Regions from separate parts of the Homo sapiens genome. Here all the other regions are linked to region 6. Evidence: promoter capture Hi-C in 16 types of primary human blood cells and fetal thymus (Javierre and others, 2016). All regions are on one chromosome and are shown on one strand. Each heading gives the region's core, a stretch centred on a gene start or on the middle of the fragment in contact. The rest is flanking DNA. Distances are from core to core; before and after follow the strand shown. Region 1 holds the start of AMIGO1 (adhesion molecule with Ig like domain 1). Region 2 overlaps GNAI3 (G protein subunit alpha i3). Region 3 overlaps GNAI3 (G protein subunit alpha i3). Region 4 overlaps GSTM4 (glutathione S-transferase mu 4). Region 5 overlaps ATXN7L2 (ataxin 7 like 2). Region 6 holds the start of AHCYL1 (adenosylhomocysteinase like 1).

Region 1 (3,284 bases), core at 727-3,226, 480 kb before region 6:
GGACCAGGACCACACTAAGGATACAGCCCACTAGGGTGGTATAGGCTGTGTTGAGGGTGTCATGGTGTCCGTGCAAGGTGAAATTGTGCACTTTCAATTCCACAGACAGTGTCTCATTGAAAGTCTCTCCCATGGCATAGCAGGTATACACACCACCGTCCTCGACCTGCACCTGCTGGAAAAGAAGACTGCCATCCTTAGACACACTCACTGTGCCATTGGTCACCTCATCTAGCACCCGTTCATTACTTGGTGTCACCCACACCTTGGTCATCCCTTGCTGCTTGGTGTCACACTTGATGATCAAGGTGTCACCCAGGTGGGCCTCCCAGGCACGCTCCTTGTACTCGCCACAGTTGAGGAAACTCAGGTTGAAGACATTGTGCAGCTTCTTGGAGTTCATGCAGTACAGATCCTCTTGAAAGTCCATCACGGAGCTCAGCTGCCGATACTGCCAGTGTGAAAACAGCTGGTAGAGCTCACAGTCGCAGTTCAGGGGGTTGTTATGTAGGTACAGCCCATTCTTGATCCAGGCCGGCAGCTTCTGCAGGTCAGGCAATGGCAAGTTCTTCAGCTTGTTAGAAGAGAGATCCAGGAGCGTTAGTTTGGGTAGCTTGGCTCCTTCCTTGACCAGTTCCAGAGGGAAGCGAGAGATCTGGTTCTGGCTCAAGTAGAGTTTCTGCAGCTGGGCCATGTCATCGAAGGCGCACCGGTCCACCGCCATGATGTGGTTATTGTAGAGCAGCAGCACCTCCAGTACTTGCAGGTCACTGAACAGGAACTCATCCAGTGTACGCAGCTGGTTGGAGGAGAGGTCCAGGTAGCGCAGGTTGGGTACCGGGGAAAAGGCCTCAGAGGAGATGAAGTTCAGGTGGTTGTGGCTCAGCAGCAGGGAGTGCAGTTGGGTCAGGCGCGTGGGGGTCCACTCGGCCCGCAGGCGGCTCAGGTTGTTGTGACTGAGGTCCAGTAGTGCTGTGTAACTGGGCAAGGAATGGGGCACATTGGGCAGCTGCTGCTTGGAGCAGCTGAGGATGTTGCTGGCGCACAAGCAGGCGGCAGGACAGCTAACCACGGCTCGGCCAGCTCTGGCCACCTCAAAAAGCAGCAGGGACAAGGACGGCAGCAGGAGCCAGAGGCCTCTCGGGTCACGGTGGGGGTGCATAGTGTCACTGGAGTGGGCGAGGAAGGCCACAAGGAAGATCTGGGAGGAGGTCACCCGGGCATGTTCTGGTGGGGTACGGAAGGGTCACTTGAGAGAAAGAGGATGGGTTTGTGGTCACCAAGGACTCCAGAGGGAAGGACACCCTCTCCCACTTCCCCTCCCACCCTTACCTCCACCCCCTTTGGGCTAGGAGAGAGAGATGCTGGGTAGTTTCCAGGCACTGTGCAGGCAGTGGGCTGTAAATATCGGCCGAAGAGGAGGTGGCCCGAGGGCCTACTGGGCTGGGGTCACAGGGGTGCAGGCTGCAGGTATGCACAGGATGGCAGGGACTGCTGGGAGTCACAGGGATGGCACGGGCAGGGTTTGGAGGTGGGGTCGGTGTGCCTTTTGGGAGGAGCTGAGGGAAGGTCAACAGGGCACCGGGCTGGGTAGGACGCGTCCGGTCGGGGTTGAGGGTCCCCGGGGCCTGTAGGGGCGGGCTCCCCCCGGGGCCTCCGGTCACTGCACCTGCTCGGCGAGGACGTGTCTCAGCCCATGGCCGGTCTGGGAGCTCCGTCGCGGCCTCTCCCGGCGGCGCCTCACCGGCCGGCCTGTCACTGCGCCCACCTTACGCAGGGGCCCGCGCCCGGCACCGTCGCCTCCCGGGGACTTGCGGGGCCCCGCTCCGCTCACCCTGCCACCGCCTCGACCGCTGAGCCCGCCGGAGCCCACCGACCGCGGTCGCTGCCTCCAGGTCCGCAGGCCTGGCGCGGATCGGTGCGGGGAGCCGGAGGCGCAGCGATCCCAGCGGAGGGAGCGGCGTGGGGGCAGCGAGCACCGCGCGCGCGCCCGTCGCCGCCGCCGGAGCCTCGGGGCGCGTGCGCGCGGCGGGGGCGGGGCGCACGTGCGTGTGTTTGTGTCGGAGCCGGCCGGGCGGACGCGCGCGGGGTCGTTCCCTCAACCAGCGAGCTCCGGACGCTGAGCTAAAGACGAAAATTGGCAGGAAGAGCGGCACTGGCCCCTTAGGCTCCGCTATAACTTCCTCCATCCCCCATTCCCCCATCTCCCAGCACCCTTCTCGCTACACAGACCGGCTCTCAGGAAAAGTCTAACTAAAGTGAATTCGCTGCACCTACTCGGGCAAGAGGCGTCACATGTCTTTTAATTTCGCAAATTGAAGAAATCTGGCTCAGCTCCCGCCTGCCAATGTTGGCGGGAAATTCATTAGTCACATTCTGAGGTTCCCCCTCCCTTCTCTCTGTGGCTGTGGGGTCTCAAAAATTGGGGGAGGGGTTCCCCCCACCCCACCCCCGTCTTGATGCTACTAGTTCATGACCCTTGAGGTACCACTGAAGGGCACAGCTCCTTAGCCTGCAAGCCAGCTGCGCAGGAGTGAGGGGAAAGGGGGTGTTTGGTGAGCCCAGGCCCCAGAACACCCCTTTACAGACACCTCATGCACCTCTCCCCACTCCACCTGCTACACACACACACACACACACACACACACACACACACACACACACGGACTGCATACAAGCCAGGGACAATTTCCATTCCTGGAAACTCCGAAACCCTTCCCAGCCCGGAGGAAGTCATTCAGCCCTTAGGTCTGGCCACTTGCCTTCTTCCTAAACCAGTGCCAGCTCCCCACTCCCCTTATGGAGCAATTGCAACATAGTTTCTCTGTTACCTAATCCTCAAGATGAAGGCCAGTGGTGGAGGTGGAGGGGTTTCTTCTTTAGGGTGGCCCCTGAAACAACAAGAAGCTGTTACTAGTGTATGTTGTTTGGGTTTGGGGGTGAGGAAAGAGAGAGATGCAGGAAGAGCCTAGACCTTATCATTCAAGATGTTAGCTGTTCTTGAGATGGTGGACCATAAGAAATTACCTTTTTATTTGTTCCAGTCTCTTATAACAGCAAGATCAAGACTGAAATTAATGTCTCAGTAGATTAGCTTGCTAAGAGTTTTAAAAAGAATTTATATCTGTCACATGTTTTACCATGAATTTTAGTGAATATATTATCTCTTCAAGGAGTATTAGCGTGTTAATCTTATGCATAGTGTGAAAAGGTCTTTCTGCAAGGTGCAGTGGCTCACACCTGTAATCCCAGCACTTTGGGAGGCTGCGGCAGGAGGATTGCTT
Region 2 (3,190 bases), core at 163-2,662, 430 kb before region 6:
TTTTCACCAAGCTCTTTCAGCTCACCCCAATGAGCCTTACAAATATTTTTAATGTGTGCCATCATGTGACAAAGGTTGGGAAGCACTGGTATAATGGATAAGAGCACTGCTTTTGGATTCACACAAAACTGAATTTAAGTTCTACCTCCACTTATTAGCTCTGAGACCCAGAGCAAGTAACTTAACCATAAGAATAATAATTTTTACATATGTAAAGCAGAGATGATGTTTCATAATATGAAATGAGATAATGCATGTAAAATGCTTCACATTAGTGCCTAGCAAATAAAAAATAGTAAGTGGTCACTTCTATTGATGATGATGATCGTGAGAATTACCATTTTAGCTACTTTTTTCAGAGGTTTTTCAGACAGCTGTTTTATTATTTTTCATATTAATATACTATTTTCAAAGATCTTCAAAGAATTTTAATATCCTTTTGTGGTGAAAGGAATTAAATGTTAGTCCTTTTTTTTTACTCATCACTGTACTAATGAAGATACTTAGTTTTGTAAATTATTGAATTATCTGCTCTCTGTATTTCTGTTTCTTGATAGTTTCCTTTAGCAGGTTCTGAGAAAACATAAAAAAAAACTTTGTTCTTTGGGATTTGCTGGTGGTAGTATGGCAAAAAGCCAGTTGCATGCAGAGAACTGGAATCATCTAATTTACTTAAACTCTATATTATACAGTTAATTATATTTAAATTGCTGCATATTATTGGCTGAATATGCTTATTATTGAGAATAAGACTGCCCTTTGGTAAACATGCCATTACATTATATCCTCCTATGGGATTATACCCTTTATTATGTTTGCCATTTGCTTGGGATAAGGTTCATGGCCAGTTACATTTCATGTGAGGATGCATCTGTGTTTCGGGGAAAAAAAGCTTTGTGTTTTATAAGCATGTATCATTCTTTGTGTCTTTTATTTAAATGCATTAGTCACTTTTTTAACATTTCAATAGGTTTTTGGGGAACAGGTTATGTTTGGTTACGTGAATAAGTTTAGTGGCAATTTCTGAGATTTTGGTGCACCCATCACCTGAGCAGTCTACACTGTACCCAATGTATAGTCCTTTATCCCTCACCACCTTCCCACCCTTTCCCCCGAGTCCCCAAAGTCCGTTGTATCATTCTTAGGCCTTTGCATCCTCATAGCTTAGCATCCACTTACAAGTGAGAACGTACGATGTTTGGTTTTCCATTCCTGAGTTACTTCACTTAGAGTAATCGTCTCCAGTTCCATCCAGGTTGCTGCAGATGCCATTATTTCATTCCTTTTTATGGCTGAGTAGTGTTCCATGGGTGTAGAGGGGTGTGTGTGTGTGTGTGTGTGTATATCACATTTTCTTTATCCACTCGTTGATTGATGGGCATTTGGGCTGGTTCCATATTTTTGCCATTGTGAATTGTGCTGCTATAAACATGCGTATGCAAGTATCTTTTTTGTATAATGGCTTCTTTCCTCAGGGTAGATACTCAGGAGTGAGATTGGTGCATCAAATGGTAGATATACTTTTAGTTCTTTAAGGAACCTACACACTGTTTCCCATAGTGGTTGTACTAGTTTACATTCCCACCAACAGCGTGAAGGTGTTCCCTTTTCATCACATCCACACCAACATCTATTTTTTTTTTATTATGGCCATTATTGCAGGAGTAAGGTGGTATCACATTGTAGTTTTGATTTGTAGTTCCTGATAATTAGTGATGTTGAGCATGTTTTCGTAAGTTTGCTGGCCATTTGTATATCTTGTGAGAATTGTCTATTCAAGTCCTTAGCCCACTTTTTGATGGGATTGTTTTTTTCGTGCTGATTTGATTTCCTTGTAGATTCTGGATATTAGTCCTTTGTCAGATGTATAGATTGTGAAGATTTTCTCCCACTCTGGGTTGTCTGTACTCTGCTGATTTCTTTTGTTGCTCAGAAGCTTTTTAGTTTAGTTGAGTCCCATTTATTTATTTTTATTTTTGTCTTTGCATTTGCTTTTGGGTTCTTGGTTGTGAAGTCTTTGCCTAAGCCAATGGCTAGAAGGGTTTTTCCAATGTTATCTTCTAGAATTTTTATGGTTTTGGGTCTTAGATTTAAGTCAGTAGCCCTATACACCAACAGCAACCAAGCTGAGAATCAAATCAAGAACTCAACCTTTTACAGTAGCTGCAAACAAAAAACAAACAAACAAACAATACTTAGGAATATACTTGACCAAGAAGGTGAAACACCTCTACAAGGAAAACTACAAAACACGGCTGACAGAAATCATAGATGATACAAACAAATGGAAACACGTCCCATGCTCATGGATGGGTAGAATCAATATTGTGAAAATGACCATACTGCCAAAAGCATATCTACAAATTCAATGCAATTCCCATTAAAGTACCACCATCATTCTTCACAGAACTAGAAAAAACAATCCTAAAATTCATGTGGACCCAAAAAAGAGCCCGTATAGCCAAAGCAAGACTAAGCAAAAAGAACAAACCTAGAGGCATTAGATTACCTGACTTCGAACTATACTGTAAGGCCATAATCACCAAAACATCATGGTACTGGTGTAAAAACAGGCATATAGACTAATGGAACAGAATAGAGAGCCCAGAAATAAAGCCAAATAACTTCCAGTCAACTAATCTTCGACAAAGAAACAAAAATGTGAAGTGGCGAAAGGACACCCTGTTCCACAAATGGTGCTGGGATAATTGACAAGCCACATGTAGAAGCATTAATCACTTTTGCAGTCTGAAAATACGGCCCTTTTCAGGAATTAAAATAATGTAATTTTCCCTGACTACGCTATTCCTGTAGTACACTGATGGCCATAGAGTAGGGTGCTTAATACTAGATTTCACAGGGCATGTAAGGTTCTAATAAGCGCTGCTACTACGTTTCTTTAAAAAATAATTTTTAGCATACTAAACTTATATGCATTATTACAAAAAAGTCTTTTAGTTTTTAGGCAGTTGTCTCTAATAAAATTGATTCGTAGTCTAGAGATCTTTTAGAGATGGTTAGTAAAACCTGAAGCACTATGCTGTTCCTCCCCCGTGGTGCTGAGCTTCTGCATCCTCTAGCTTGGGAAGGAAAAGGGAGTTGTTAGGCCTCTGCAGATACTTCCTTTTTTCCTATCCTGTCTCTCTTCCTTCCCTGGTTTCTTCTACAGCATACTTTCTCCTGGGGAAAG
Region 3 (3,058 bases), core at 232-2,731, 410 kb before region 6:
GTTGATTACCGAGAAATTCAAAGTCTGGTTTTCTTTTCTTACAGGTGCTGGAGAATCTGGTAAAAGCACCATTGTGAAACAGATGAAGTAAGTTGGAATGTAGCGTTTTGTTAGACTAGGATTTCTCCTAATGCATATAAAGTCCATAGTATCTTTTCATTTTAGGTCCATGGTATTGACTTGTGGTTTTCTTTGTTTTAAAGAATCATTCATGAGGATGGCTATTCAGAGGATGAATGTAAACAATATAAAGTAGTTGTCTACAGCAATACTATACAGTCCATCATTGCAATCATAAGAGCCATGGGACGGCTAAAGATTGACTTTGGGGAAGCTGCCAGGGCAGTAAGTGTTTCTCATTTCCTCTTCACTTGCTCTTATTCAGCAGATACAGTTAAGTTAAGCAAAATTTTTGCTTCATGTTTTAGGGAAATGAATTTAAGCAACAAGATAAAATGTAGCAAAGTACTTTGTGCTCACTTGAGAAATGTTAGCAATCTACTTTAGCAGGTGTTAGATATAACCACCCCAAGAGGAGCCTAGGAAATGGGATTCTGTGGGTGCACGGTAGGTTTCTGGGATAACTGTTCTATTCAATTGCTTTTTTTTTTTTTTTAACAGCACTGTTGACTTTTATAGTAGTAGATAATAGTACATTAAAATAATCTAAGAGAAAGGTTGCCATGATATGTAGCTCTGCTTTCTGAGGTGTACAGATTAAAGGCCAAAATCAGTCTCCCAGAATAAATTCTGTAAGGACATGAGCACTAAGTCCAAATTCTTGAATATCTAAGTCAGATATTCAAGAATACTGTATACTACATGGAACCTAAGGCTATAGAATTGGAGTATAACATGCCCTAGTATAATTCTTTAATGCCTTGCACATGTCAGCTATTTAAAAAGTTGTATTATTATAATAATACTTAGTGGACCCTGAAGATCTAGTTTATAAAATTAGAGCATGTGTAATTAGGATGTTTTATGCCATTGGGGAGGGTGCCAATATGAAGGCAGGAGATCTTTGATATTATTATCAGCTAAAATCCAGAGAAGGCTGGGAAATTATAGAATTATTTCCTACATCTAAGGGACTCACTGGCTGTGTTCAGAGTGTCATACTTATGTGCCATGGCGAAATAAAAGGAAATGATTTGGGAGGTCTGCCTGGAAAGGCAAAACCTATATGTCTATGAAGTTGCTTAGGAACTCTCATAAGCCACTCCCAACTTATCAAATGCGAATTTATATTTGATAAAAAGATAGGAAATTGTTGAGGGGAAATACTGAAAGGGTAGTCACAGTTGGATAGTGTTAGACTAGAAAGTGTCTTAGAAATGGCATAAAGGAAGAGGAGCTGGATTAGGGATTGTGAAATGAGAGACTTGTATCAAAAAATAAGAAAATATGTGAATGTGACTTTTATATTTTTGTGAAATATATCACAGAGACTATTTTTCTATGCATCTGAGCAGGGAAGTTTGGCAGTCAAGCAAAAATAAAGCCTTTATCCTTGTCTTACCCTTTCCTATTCCTTCTCTCACCCCCTGCTTTTGTTTCCTTCTTTTCCTCTTTTTCTTCTTTATACCAGCTCTATCTGTGGTCTTATTTTTTCTTCCTCCCTTTTCTCATTTCTCCCTATCACCTAACTCTACTTCTCTGTTGTATTTGTTGTATCTGGTAACTGGTCAGTAGTACTGTATTTATTCTCTTCCTTCTCTCTGTTGGTTTTTTCTCTGTCTCAGTTATTTATTCTTTTAGTTTGTCCCTTTTCTCTTTCCCTCTTTAATTTTATTCCCCGCCGTCTGTCTTCCTTTATTTATCTCCCTACCCTTTCATTTCTTTTTTTTTTTTTTTTTTTTTTTTTGGAGACGGACTCTCGCCCTGTCGCCCAGGCTGGAATGCAATGGCTGGCTGCAGCCTCTGCCTCCCAGGTTCAAGCGATTCTCCTGTCTCAGCCTCCTGAGTATCTGAGATTACAGGCGCTCACCTCCACGCCCAGCTAATTTTTGTATTTTTAGTAGAGATGGAGTTTCACCATGTTGGCCAGGCTGGTCTCGAACTCCTGACCTTGTGATCCGCCCGCCTCGGCCTCCCAAAGTGCTGGGATTATAGGCGTGAGCCACCGCTCCCGGCCCCATTTCTTTCCATTATCAAATCAATTGTCATTAATCTTTGTATCCTAATACTCTTGTGTCACCAGATGCAGTTGACATCATTAGTCCCTCTCAGGCCTCCTAAATCATCCAGCTTTCTGGTGTCCACACAACCTAGTCTGTAATCCTATATTATAATTTTTAAACATTGCTTTTTATTTTTCCTTCTGTGTGTAAGGTTTTATGTTTATAGCTCCTCTCTTATTGTCTTCTAGTATTTTTGTTTGTTTGTTTTTTGAGGCGGAGTTTTGCTCTTGTCACCCAGGCTGGAGTGTAACGGTACGATTTTGGCTCACTGCAACCTCTGCCTCCTGGATTCAAGTGATTCTCCTACCTCAGCCTCCCAAGGAGCTGGGATTACAGGCGCCTGCCACCACGGCTGACTAATTTTTGTATTTTTAGTAGAGATGGGGTTTCGTCATGTTGGCCAGGTTGGTCTTGAATTCCTGACCTCAGGTGATCCACTTGCCTTGGCCTCCCCAAGTGCTGGGATTACAGGTGTGAGCCACTGTGCCCGGCTTCTACTCTAGTTTTTTATAGTTGGTTAGAGAGTGTGAATGGAAAAAAAATAGAGCTGAGTGTGGAATAGGTTCCTTTTTCACATCTGCTTAAGTGTGGAGGTGTGAAGTTTATTGTAAAGAGGGGCCTCTTCTGTTTTTTTTTTTGTTGTTGTTTTTTGTTTTTTTTGAGACAGAGTTTCACTCTTGTTGCCCAGGCTGGAGTGCAATGGTGTGACCTTGGCTCACCGCAACCTCTGCCTCCTGGGTTCAAGCGATTCTCCTGCCTCAGCCTCCCGAGTAGCTGGGATTATAGGCATGCACCACCATGCCCGCCTAATTTTTTTGTATTTTTAGTAGAGACGGGGGTTTCTCCATGTTGGTCAGGTTGGTCTGGAACTCCTG
Region 4 (3,214 bases), core at 2-2,501, 320 kb before region 6:
ACCTTTGTAGATTTCCTCGCCTATGATGTCCTTGACCTCCACCGTATATTTGAGCCCAACTGCTTGGACGCCTTTCCAAATCTGAAGGACTTCATCTCCCGCTTTGAGGTGATGCCCCCATCCTCCTTTCTCTTTGATGCCCCTTGTTCCGTTACCTCCTTTCAGATGCTTTCCCAGTCCTGGAGCTACATAAAGAATAACTTGCATTTATTGAGTGCTGGCTTCATGCCAGGAACCTTGCCCAGCACATTATACCTATCGTGTGGAATTTGAAATTTCCAACATTCCTACAGGGTGACAGAATTATCTTGCCCATTTAGAGATAAGAAAACTTTGAATGAGAGGGTCAGTCCTTTGTTCTGGGTCCCAGAGCCAGTGGAGGCTGTGCTGGGCTCCCTGTGAGCATCTGGATCTATGGGTGGCAGTCAGGGCTCTCCCTTTTGTGACAAAAGAAAGAAGCCTCAGGCCTCATCCAGCCTGGATTTCACAGCCCAGGGCACTTTGGAAGAGGCAGAGAACTTTAGGAGCATGGATGCAGCTGGCAATAGTAGGACTGACACACGGTGGCATTGACGTCGAGTACGAAACCCACAGGCAGTATTCATAGCTACTCCCAGAAGCTTTGCACGATCAGACCCCCACGTGGGGAATCCTGAGAGCCAGAGCTGTGGCCAGAGCTGGATTAGGGTACATATGTGGGTGCCCCTGTTGAAGGAGTGTATGTTGAAGTGCTCTGTGCTGGGGCACTCTCCTTCTTTATCTTTTTTCCTCTCTTTTTTCCCTCCAGTGTTCCAAGTGTTCCCCCTGTGAGATGAGTAGCACACTGATTTTACTGCTATTCACCGACCTTCTCCTCTGCATGAGGCAGGGTGTGAGGCACAGTGGGAGTTGCATAGATGACTGCCCCATCCTGGAAATGAGTGCAGTGAGAGGCCTGCAGGCAGAGCAGCCTGTGAGGTGTGTGGCACCACCTGGGTACCAGGCCTGGGGCCTGCCCCTCACTCATGGGGAACCATCCCTCACCCGTGCTGAATTTGTTTGAGAGCAGCAAATCCTACTTTTAGTACAGATGTGAGAATTTGAGGCATTAGTCCAACAAGTTTTTCAGCCTAGAATTTGTTTTCCTTTCCCACTACCCATCAAGGGATCTGGTTACTCAGCTAGTTCCCATCAGCTCTGGCTGTGGTCTCGGCTGAGTGGCCTTGGGGTTATGTAAGAGGTAGTGGGAGGGGAAGAGAGCTGAGGGCTGCAGCATATGGTCCACCTGGGCTTGGCCCTTTGGGAATAGGCAGCCCTGGCTCTCTCTGAATCCTTAGAAATTACACGGCTATTTGATCCTGGAAAGATCGTGCAGAGCACACCTGAGTGTCATACAGCCTGGTCTGAGGTAGTGGGGTTGGAGATGAGGTGGGTTGGGGCACAGTGGTGTTTAGCTCAGGTACCAGGTGGGGAGGTTTAGACTTTCTGCTTTAAAAGGAATGATTAGAGCCTGGTCTGGCGTTTCTTTTGCTGGTCCAACACACCTTGACCACTTTCATCCAGGTTTTGCCAGGTCCTTGGGTGAGATCTGGGCTCTCTTCCAGGCTGCACAGACATTTTCAGAGGTCCCCTCTGTGTGTGCAAACCTAGGCAAGCCAGGTGCCTCCCTGTGAAACAGGAGAATGTTGTGTAGTCAGAGAGTGACAGGACCTCCTGAGGGATTTGGGGGAGGATGGGGATTTGACAGAAAGAGGCCAGAACTGGAGAGAGACAGAACCAGTCTACGTTGCAGCTCTGTCCCCCTTAGTAGCTATTTGAGTGTGAGGAAGTTACTGAACTTCTGTTTCCCACATGAGAAATGGTGATAATAGATTCAGCCTTGCAGAGTAGTCGAGTGGGTTTTCTAAGCTTATGTTGTAATTTCTCTTGGGTACAGAGCACCCAGCACCGGGTAGAATCTTCATAAGTGTTAGCTGTTACTGTGGTACAACATTACTTAAAGGAAGTTGGAAGAGTTAACTCCGCAAATCTGGGGACCCTAAGAGGCTGTGTGATGCCTCAGCACTTGAGCCCACGTGGAAAGGCTGTGGCCAGGGCCCTGACCTGCTGTGTCTGCAGTGGGGTTGTCCCAGCCCTCATGGGCAGCTGACCTTGAGTTCTGGCCTTATTTTCCCCCCTCTCAGGGCTTGGAGAAGATCTCTGCCTACATGAAGTCCAGCCGCTTCCTCCCAAAACCTCTGTACACAAGGGTGGCTGTCTGGGGCAACAAGTAATGCCTTGAAGGCCAGGAGGTGGGAGTGAGGAGCCCATACTCAGCCTGCTGCCCAGGCTGTGCAGCGCAGCTGGACTCTGCATCCCAGCACCTGCCTCCTCGTTCCTTTCTCCTGTTTATTCCCATCTTTACCCCCAAGACTTTATTGGGCCTCTTCACTTCCCCTAAACCCCTGTCCCATGCAGGCCCTTTGAAGCCTCAGCTACCCACTTTCCTTCATGAACATCCCCCTCCCAACACTACCCTTCCCTGCACTAAAGCCAGCCTGACCTTCCTTCCTGTTAGTGGTTGTATCTGCTTTGAAGGGCCTACCTGGCCCCTCGCCTGTGGAGCTCAGCCCTGAGCTGTCCCCGTGTTGCATGACAGCATTGACTGGTTTACAGGCCCTGCTCCTGCAGCATGGCCCCTGCCTTAGGCCTACCTGATCAAAATAAAGCCTCAGCCACATTTGCTATAGTCTTGTCTTATTTGCTCCTGGCTGCCCAGACTGTGTCTGTCACTGCCTCTTCTGAGGGACTGGCTGGTGACCCTGGCAGTAGCTGGGTTCATAGAGATTATGATGGGCTTAGTAAGGTGTTTCCAACTTTGTTTTTTTTTTGAAATAAGGTCTCCTGCTTCCCAAGGTGAAGGGCAGTGGCGGCATCGTAGCTTACTGCAACATCCAGTCCTGGGCTCAAGAATCCTCCCACTTCAGCCTCCCAAATAGCTGAGACTATAGGTGTGCCACCACACCTGGCCACATTAAAAAAATTTTTGTAGAGATGTGTCTCTTTATGTTGCCCAGGCTGGTCTGGAACTCCTGAGCTCAAGCGATCCTCTTACCTTGGCATCCCAAATTGCTGGGATTGCAGGTGTGAGCCACCATGCCTGGCCCTGTTTCCAACTTCTTGATCTCTTTTCTGACTGCCTTAGAGCAGGAAGCCACATAAAGTGCTCTATAGAAAGGATGCCTCTTTCTGGGCC
Region 5 (2,988 bases), core at 358-2,857, 490 kb before region 6:
GGCAGAAGGTGGGAACAGTGGGAAGGAGGGAGTTTCCAGATTCCCCCATCCCAAAGGAGGGTTTTGGCCCCATGGGGGAATGAAACAAAGACACATGAACACAGCTGCAAATATGCCCACCTCTCTCCCTGCCCCCCAACTTGCCCGGGCCAAAGCACCCTGCCGTCCCTCACCCCTTCTCAGTTCATACCTACTCCCCAGCTCTCCACTCTGCTGTATTCTAGATCCACTCAGTACACCAGCGCCGGGAAGTCCAGGGCCGGGCCAAGGACTTTGACGTGCTGGTGGCAGAGCTGAAGGCCAACTCCCGCAAAGGGGAGTCTCCCAAGGAGAAGAGCCCAGGGCGCAAGGAGCAAGTTCTCGAGCGCCCCTCCCAGGAGCTCCCCTCCTCAGTCCAGGTTGTAGCAGCGGTGGCTGCTCCCAGCAGCACCTTCTCTGTTCGTGCCAAGCAGACCTACCCATACTGTGCACTGCCCAGGTACGTCTAGAATCCAACCCCTACCTCACCTGGGGGTACTTGGCCCCTAAGCCATCAGGGGCCCCTGGAAACAGGCTCAGGGAGTGTCCTGGAAGAGGCACTCCCTCAGCCCTGAGTGTGGGGGTATTCCTGGGGCTCCTGACAGTGGTGTGGAAGCAGGAGACTCCCCTGTTTCCAACCAGGCATACCACAGCACCCCAGCCTCTCGGCAGTGTGCCAGATCCAACACTCAGGATATGAACATTTTCCCAGCTGCCTCCAACAGACCGAAACTTGTCACTGGGGAGCTGAAAGGGTCACACTCCTGGGCAAGGCAGCCCTATGTGTATTCACTCACTGGCCCCTTCGCGTGCAGAGGCTATGCCGGACCCCAGGGAGAGCCTGACTTGCTGAAGGAGACACACATGCATCTCTGCCTGTCACACAAGGGGCAGACACGAAACACAGGCTCAGCTCACAGACAGGCTCACAGGAATATGTGATGCAAGAAGGGGGTTGAGCGAGTTGACTGGGCTGACCAGAGCTGGGTACAGTTTTAACTGTGAAGATTTTCTGGAGGAGGCGGATCTGCAGCAGATTATCCCCTGAGGAGGAAGGGGCTGGGAGGTGAAGGGGCTGGGGAGAGAATCCCTTGGGAGCAGTCTCTCTGTCTCTTACTCTGTGAGCTGTGTCGTTCCCTCCTGTCCTTCCCTTCCCTCTGTCCTCTTCTGATTGCCCTGCAGGGTGTCTGCCCTGGTGCCCTGCTCTTTGAGCTCGGCAGGTTCAAGGATGCCCCTACTCTGACCCCACAACAGTCACATTCCCCTGGCATCCCTTTTGGCCCTTCCAGGTCCCGGGCCTCCTCCGAGAGTGAATTGGATGATGAAGGCCCCTGTGGTGGTGATGGGGACCCAGGCCTGTTCCCCTTCCCCATGCCCCGGGGTGGGACCCAGGCCTCCAGCGAAGAGAGTGAGGAGGAGGGGACATCTGACGACCTCCACCCACCCCCTGACTGCCATTATGCAACCCGGCCCCCACGGCCACAGGCGGTAAGGACCTGGAATAGGGGCCTATGGAGGGGGTGGCCCAGCACTCCTGGCCAACAACATGGGGAGGAGGCCAGATCCTGTGTGCAGATGCTGTCTGTGCACCCCAGACCCTGCCAACCATGCACCTTCCTTCTGCCTTTAGTTCTGCACCTTTGGGAGCCGGCTGGTGAGCCCAGGATGCTATGTGTTTAGCCGCCGGCTGGACCGGTTCTGCTCAGCACTCAGCTCCATGCTGGAACGGCACCTCAGCACACACATGTGGAAGTAAGTCTCTCGGACCCAGAATGGAAGTTCTAGAATGGAAATTCCTAGGTTCCAGACATACTTGGGCTTCAGAAGCCCTGATCTTTCCTGTATACCCATAGGTGTGCCTTGGCTATTTGCCAGCAGGACCCCAGATAGGGAGTAGCATGAAAAGGAGGTGGGAAAACTTGGCAGCCTAGAGTTTGGCTAAGGCAGGGCATGGAAGGGTGGTCTGGGGGTGAATCTAGACTTTCATCCATCACTTCCAGTACCTTTTGGGTAACTAGGGATAGGGGATGCCCAAACCAAGATTTAAAATGAAGTTCCTAGTGGGCTGCCTCCTAGTTAGTAGGTACTAGCTAATTCCTCTCCACAGGCACCCCTGTGTCTTCTTCCTAACCCTCAGTTCCAGCATCTCCCAGCAGATGGCAGCAACTCTGGGGCTCTGCTGACCATTTCTAGGTGGGGCAGAGAGACTGGAGTGTGTCTTGTGTTGGGGGAAGCTGTCTTGTTTCTTGGCAGTCACAGTGGGGCTTTCTTTTTGCTGCAGGAAGATCCCACCGGCAGCTGAACCTCCAGCTCACCTTGTCAACTCCCCGTTATCTGCTCCCCTGAGCCCATCCTCTACAGGCACCTGCCCCCGCCTTCCAGGTCCAACCCTGAGACCTGCCTGCCCAGCCTCCATGCCCCCCACCAAGGACAACCTTGTCCCCAGCTACCCTGCAGGCTCCCCCAGCGTGGCGGCTGCCTGTAGCCAGGCAGAGTGCATGGGCGGGAGCCAGGCTATCACCTCACCACTGCCTGCCAACACGCCATCCCCGTCCTTCAGCAAGCTGCCGCCTTCCAAGGCCAGCAAGTCATCCAAAGGCAAGGACGGGGTGGAGGTGGAGGCCCCTTCTCGAAAGCGGAAGTTATCCCCTGGCCCTACCACTCTTAAACGGACCTGCATCCTGGAGCCCACTGGAAAAGGGAAACCCTCTGGCTGTAGGGGCCTCTCGGCCAAAACTAAAACAGCCCTGAGCATGGGGCTTAATGGGACAATGGGGCCAAGAGTGAAGCGGGCAGGGCCCCTGGACTGTCGTGGCTCCCCTCATCAGCTCCCCACACCAGTCAAGGCTTCTCAGCTGGAGAACCGGGGAGCAGCTGGACACCCAGCCAAGGCCCTGCCAACCAACTGCCTCTCTGAGGAGGAGGTGGCCAAGAAGCGGAAAAACCTGGCCACTTATTGCCGGCCAGTGA
Region 6 (3,070 bases), core at 351-2,850:
CTGGCCAAGATGGTGAAACCCCGTCTCTACTAAAAATACAAAAATTAGCCGGGCACGGTGGCGCACGCCTATAGTCCCAGCTACTCACTCAGGAGGCTGAGGCAGGAGAATCACTTGAACCCGGCAGGCGGAGGTTGCAGTGAGCTGAGAGCACTCCAGCTTGGGCAACAGAGCGAGACGTCATCTCAAAAAAAAAAAAAAGGTGGTCCTGGGGAGGAATTTAGGGAAAGGGCACTGGGAAGACTGGAATTGCTCAGCACAGCAGAGGAGAATCTGGCTTCCCAGAGTCTATCAAGGAAGGAAGGATGAGGTGCAGAGATGGGAAGGGAGGAACAGGAGGAAGCTAGATTAGATGGCAATGGGCTAGGGAGCGTGGTGGGATCTTGTGGCCATTGAGAAATCCCCGGGTGGTAAGACAGCCAAAATAACTTTTCAGAACATTTCAGAAATGTGTTCTTAAATTGTTTGCTGTGTGATGTAATCTCTCCCCTGTGACCCACAAACCTTTATTAAAAGTTTTACTACATGTTACAGCCTTATTTTGTAGTTGTTTAGCATGGGGTGGGGGTTGAAAGGAGAAGCGGCTGAATTGACCCCAGGAGCTACAGAAACAGTCACAAGACCAGAATAGTGAATAAAATGCCAGACAAGGCAAAAAAACTAGAGCCAGAGGTGACCATGAAAATCCAAGTCCTCCCAGTAATGGACTTTCCACAGGACATGGTAATTGGAGCCAATGTCATTTGAATCTCAAAGGACAAGCTACCTCAGCTGACATTAGGATACAAGCAGGTTTTGCCTCTCCAGCTGAACTAAGCCTTGCAAAACATAAAATGCGTCACATGTCCTTTTGCCAGCAGGGCCTCAGCACAGGCACTGCACATAGTAGGCCCAGTAAAAGGGTGTGAGCAGTCCATGAATGTCCTGGATGCCCACTGAGAGCTGGAAGGGTCTAATGCTTTGGTGGAGCAAGGACCGGAAGGCCATTCTGGCTGGGGACTTCTCCATCAGCTCTCCTGGTCTCCACCCTCATACCCATCAGCCCTATCCCAATGAGGGTTTTGTAAACAGGCAAGGCCCAGTCGGAGATGGTGGTGGAGGAAGTCACAAAGCGTTGTGCAGAAACCAGACTACTCTGAGTCAGTTCTGCCCCCTATGAAGTCAAAAAGACAGGCACGGCCCCTTGGGAAGGAGCTTTAATCCAAAGGGCCTGGGGCTGGGCCAGTGAGTGAGTGGGCTGTCTCGAGCCCCGGACATTTCCTAGGAATCGCTGTAGGATGTGTCGTGTGGGGCTCTGGTCTTTGCTCCCAAACACCCCTTTCATGCGCCTCTGAGGCCTTGCCAGGAACCCCGCAGCCCAAAGACCCTCCGTTCCGCAGCATCGTTGCATGAACCTCGCGCTGCTCCCAGGGCTGATGGTGCCACCTGGTGGCACAAAGGGTCCTGCTCACCCTGGGAACTTCGCTCTCGAGCGGGAGAGGAACGGCTTCTGTGGCCCAGCCCAGCGTGGTGACGTCACGACAGAGTGCCCTTTCTCCCCGCCTCTTCCCCCTCCCGGGAGCTGCCAGTACTTGACGTGGCGTCACCGCCCTCTACCCTCGCTTTGCGTGCGTGTTTGCGTACAGCGGAGGTGGCGGCGCGGGCAGGTCGGAGCTCGGAGCTGCTGTTCTGGTTCTCTTGTGGCCGCCGTCGCTGTCCGGCTGCCTTGGGCTGCCGAACAGACAAGGCGTGGGCCACAGCACCTCAGAAGCCGACGCAGCTCGACGCAGGGGCCGGCAGGAGGGTGGGCGATCGCGTGTCGGAGGGCGCCGCGCGGGCAGGCGGGCGGGCGCCAGAGGGGGAAAGAGGCGGGGGCGGCGGGTCAGCCGCTGGCCGGGCCGGCCGGGGAATGTCGATGCCTGACGCGATGCCGCTGCCCGGGGTCGGGGAGGAGCTGAAGCAGGCCAAGGAGATCGAGGACGCCGAGAAGTACTCCTTCATGGCCACCGTCACCAAGGCGCCCAAGAAGGTGCGGGGGCTCTGGGTGGCGGCGGGGGCTCGGGCTCCGGCCTCGCGGAAGGGACGCGAGCAAGCCCGGGCTCTGGCTAGTTTGGGACTTCTGGGGGTGACTGGGGACGGCGGAGGTGATGTAGGGGGTGGCGGCTGTGCGGCCCCAGGCCTCTCCCGGGCTGAAAGGCCGCCTCTGACCTCGCTTTCCTTTGTCCCTCGGCCCAAGTCCTCCGGGATCGTTTTGAAACCCGACAGGGCCAGGCCTTAAATTTGCGACTGACTTTTCCTGGATGAAGGGCCTCGAAGACGAGAGTGGGAGGGGGTGAACCAACTCAGCTGACCCTTGTGACCAGTCCGGGGGCATGGGGTGTACAGAAAATCTCCCTTCAGGTGAGTGGGTAAATCTGGCAGAACTTCCATCAAATCTTTGGGAGCAGTGGCCGCTTTATCCAACAACTGCGTGATAGCTGGGAGGCAAGAGAAAAGAATGCGTGAAGCTAGCTCTGATATACAGGTGAAAGCGATGAGGGTAACATGAAACTGAAAATCTATGATTTTCACTTTCTACAGCATTCCAATTACTTCGAAATATGTAAGAAATTGACATTTGGAGGTTGGTGACAGCAGACACTGTCATGGATACAGGTGGATCCTAGAGTCATGTGAATAGATCACTTAGGCATCCCTGGAGAAAGGAGCTTGGGTGGGTTGGAGTAGTGGGTGGTAAGGGAAGATTGCTCACTCTTGACTGTACTTTTGAGGCAGAACAAGTTTGATCTATTGTGCTGTAGGTTGACTCAAAGGACACCCTTCGAATTCTCTCATAAATGGCAACCTTTGGAGATTTTAGTCTGACTAGCTCTCCGAGTGGTGGAATTGGGATCCTTATTGCTTTCTCATCATTTACTGCCAACCACATCTTGATTTTCCATACACCTGGCACCCAGTTAGCAGTAGACCAGAGAACCTTTACAAAGAGGTGACCTTCCTGAAGCCAGTGAGAACCCAGATAAATGTCTCCCTTCTTTATAAAGACAGAGTCTTACAAAGCTGTCTCTGCCTGCATCCAGTGTTTAATGGG

The links. Contacts are between HindIII fragments. The CHiCAGO score rates a contact against its expected background, and 5 or more counts as called.
Region 1: a contact is called between the fragment with the promoter of AMIGO1 here and the fragment with the promoter of AHCYL1 in region 6, in 1 of 17 cell types (neutrophils). The highest score is 6.3, in neutrophils.
Region 2: a fragment that was not itself captured here is called in contact with the fragment with the promoter of AHCYL1 in region 6 in 7 of 17 cell types (erythroblasts, non-activated CD4 T cells, naive CD4 T cells and 4 more); the score reaches 7.0 in erythroblasts.
Region 3: a contact is called between a fragment that was not itself captured here and the fragment with the promoter of AHCYL1 in region 6, in 2 of 17 cell types (naive CD8 T cells and M2 macrophages). The highest score is 5.7, in naive CD8 T cells.
Region 4: a contact is called between a fragment that was not itself captured here and the fragment with the promoter of AHCYL1 in region 6, in 1 of 17 cell types (M2 macrophages). The highest score is 5.2, in M2 macrophages.
Region 5: a fragment that was not itself captured here is called in contact with the fragment with the promoter of AHCYL1 in region 6 in 3 of 17 cell types (non-activated CD4 T cells, neutrophils and naive B cells); the score reaches 6.9 in non-activated CD4 T cells.

The regions. Positions count from the first base shown.
Region 1 is chr1:109,507,751-109,511,034 of GRCh38, forward strand. It overlaps AMIGO1 (adhesion molecule with Ig like domain 1), which reads right to left and starts at 1,977. Exons shown (of 2, transcript NM_020703.4): 1 at 1,670-1,977; 2 at 1-1,249. The coding sequence starts at 1,162. LOC105378893 (a long non-coding RNA gene) reads right to left here. Exons shown (of 3, transcript XR_001738179.2): 3 at 2,852-2,891. RefSeq lists silencers at 1,581-1,640, 1,651-1,800, 1,861-1,980. The HindIII fragment of the contact is 14,739 bases long and covers 1-3,284 here.
Region 2 is chr1:109,552,760-109,555,949 of GRCh38, forward strand. The region is part of intron 1 of GNAI3 (G protein subunit alpha i3); the gene reads left to right. Among named protein-coding and RNA genes, the nearest start is that of GNAI3, 5.7 kb to the left of the region's middle. The HindIII fragment of the contact is 1,044 bases long and covers 891-1,934 here.
Region 3 is chr1:109,573,693-109,576,750 of GRCh38, forward strand. GNAI3 (G protein subunit alpha i3) reads left to right here. Exons shown (of 9, transcript NM_006496.4): 2 at 45-87; 3 at 204-345. Among named protein-coding and RNA genes, the nearest start is that of MIR197, 24 kb to the right of the region's middle. The HindIII fragment of the contact is 8,274 bases long and covers 1-3,058 here.
Region 4 is chr1:109,659,003-109,662,216 of GRCh38, forward strand. GSTM4 (glutathione S-transferase mu 4) reads left to right here. Exons shown (of 8, transcript NM_000850.5): 7 at 1-108; 8 at 2,163-2,698. The coding sequence ends at 2,252. Among named protein-coding and RNA genes, the nearest start is that of GSTM4, 4.5 kb to the left of the region's middle. The HindIII fragment of the contact is 1,267 bases long and covers 619-1,885 here.
Region 5 is chr1:109,488,623-109,491,610 of GRCh38, forward strand. ATXN7L2 (ataxin 7 like 2) reads left to right here. Exons shown (of 11, transcript NM_001350175.2): 7 at 225-478; 8 at 1,308-1,506; 9 at 1,649-1,770; 10 at 2,300-2,988. Among named protein-coding and RNA genes, the nearest start is that of CYB561D1, 4.0 kb to the right of the region's middle. RefSeq lists a silencer at 2,235-2,284. The HindIII fragment of the contact is 4,525 bases long and covers 1-2,988 here.
Region 6 is chr1:109,983,165-109,986,234 of GRCh38, forward strand. It overlaps AHCYL1 (adenosylhomocysteinase like 1), which reads left to right and starts at 1,601. Exons shown (of 17, transcript NM_006621.7): 1 at 1,601-2,008. The coding sequence starts at 1,889. RefSeq lists silencers at 1,827-1,896, 2,077-2,146. The HindIII fragment of the contact is 11,948 bases long and covers 1-3,070 here.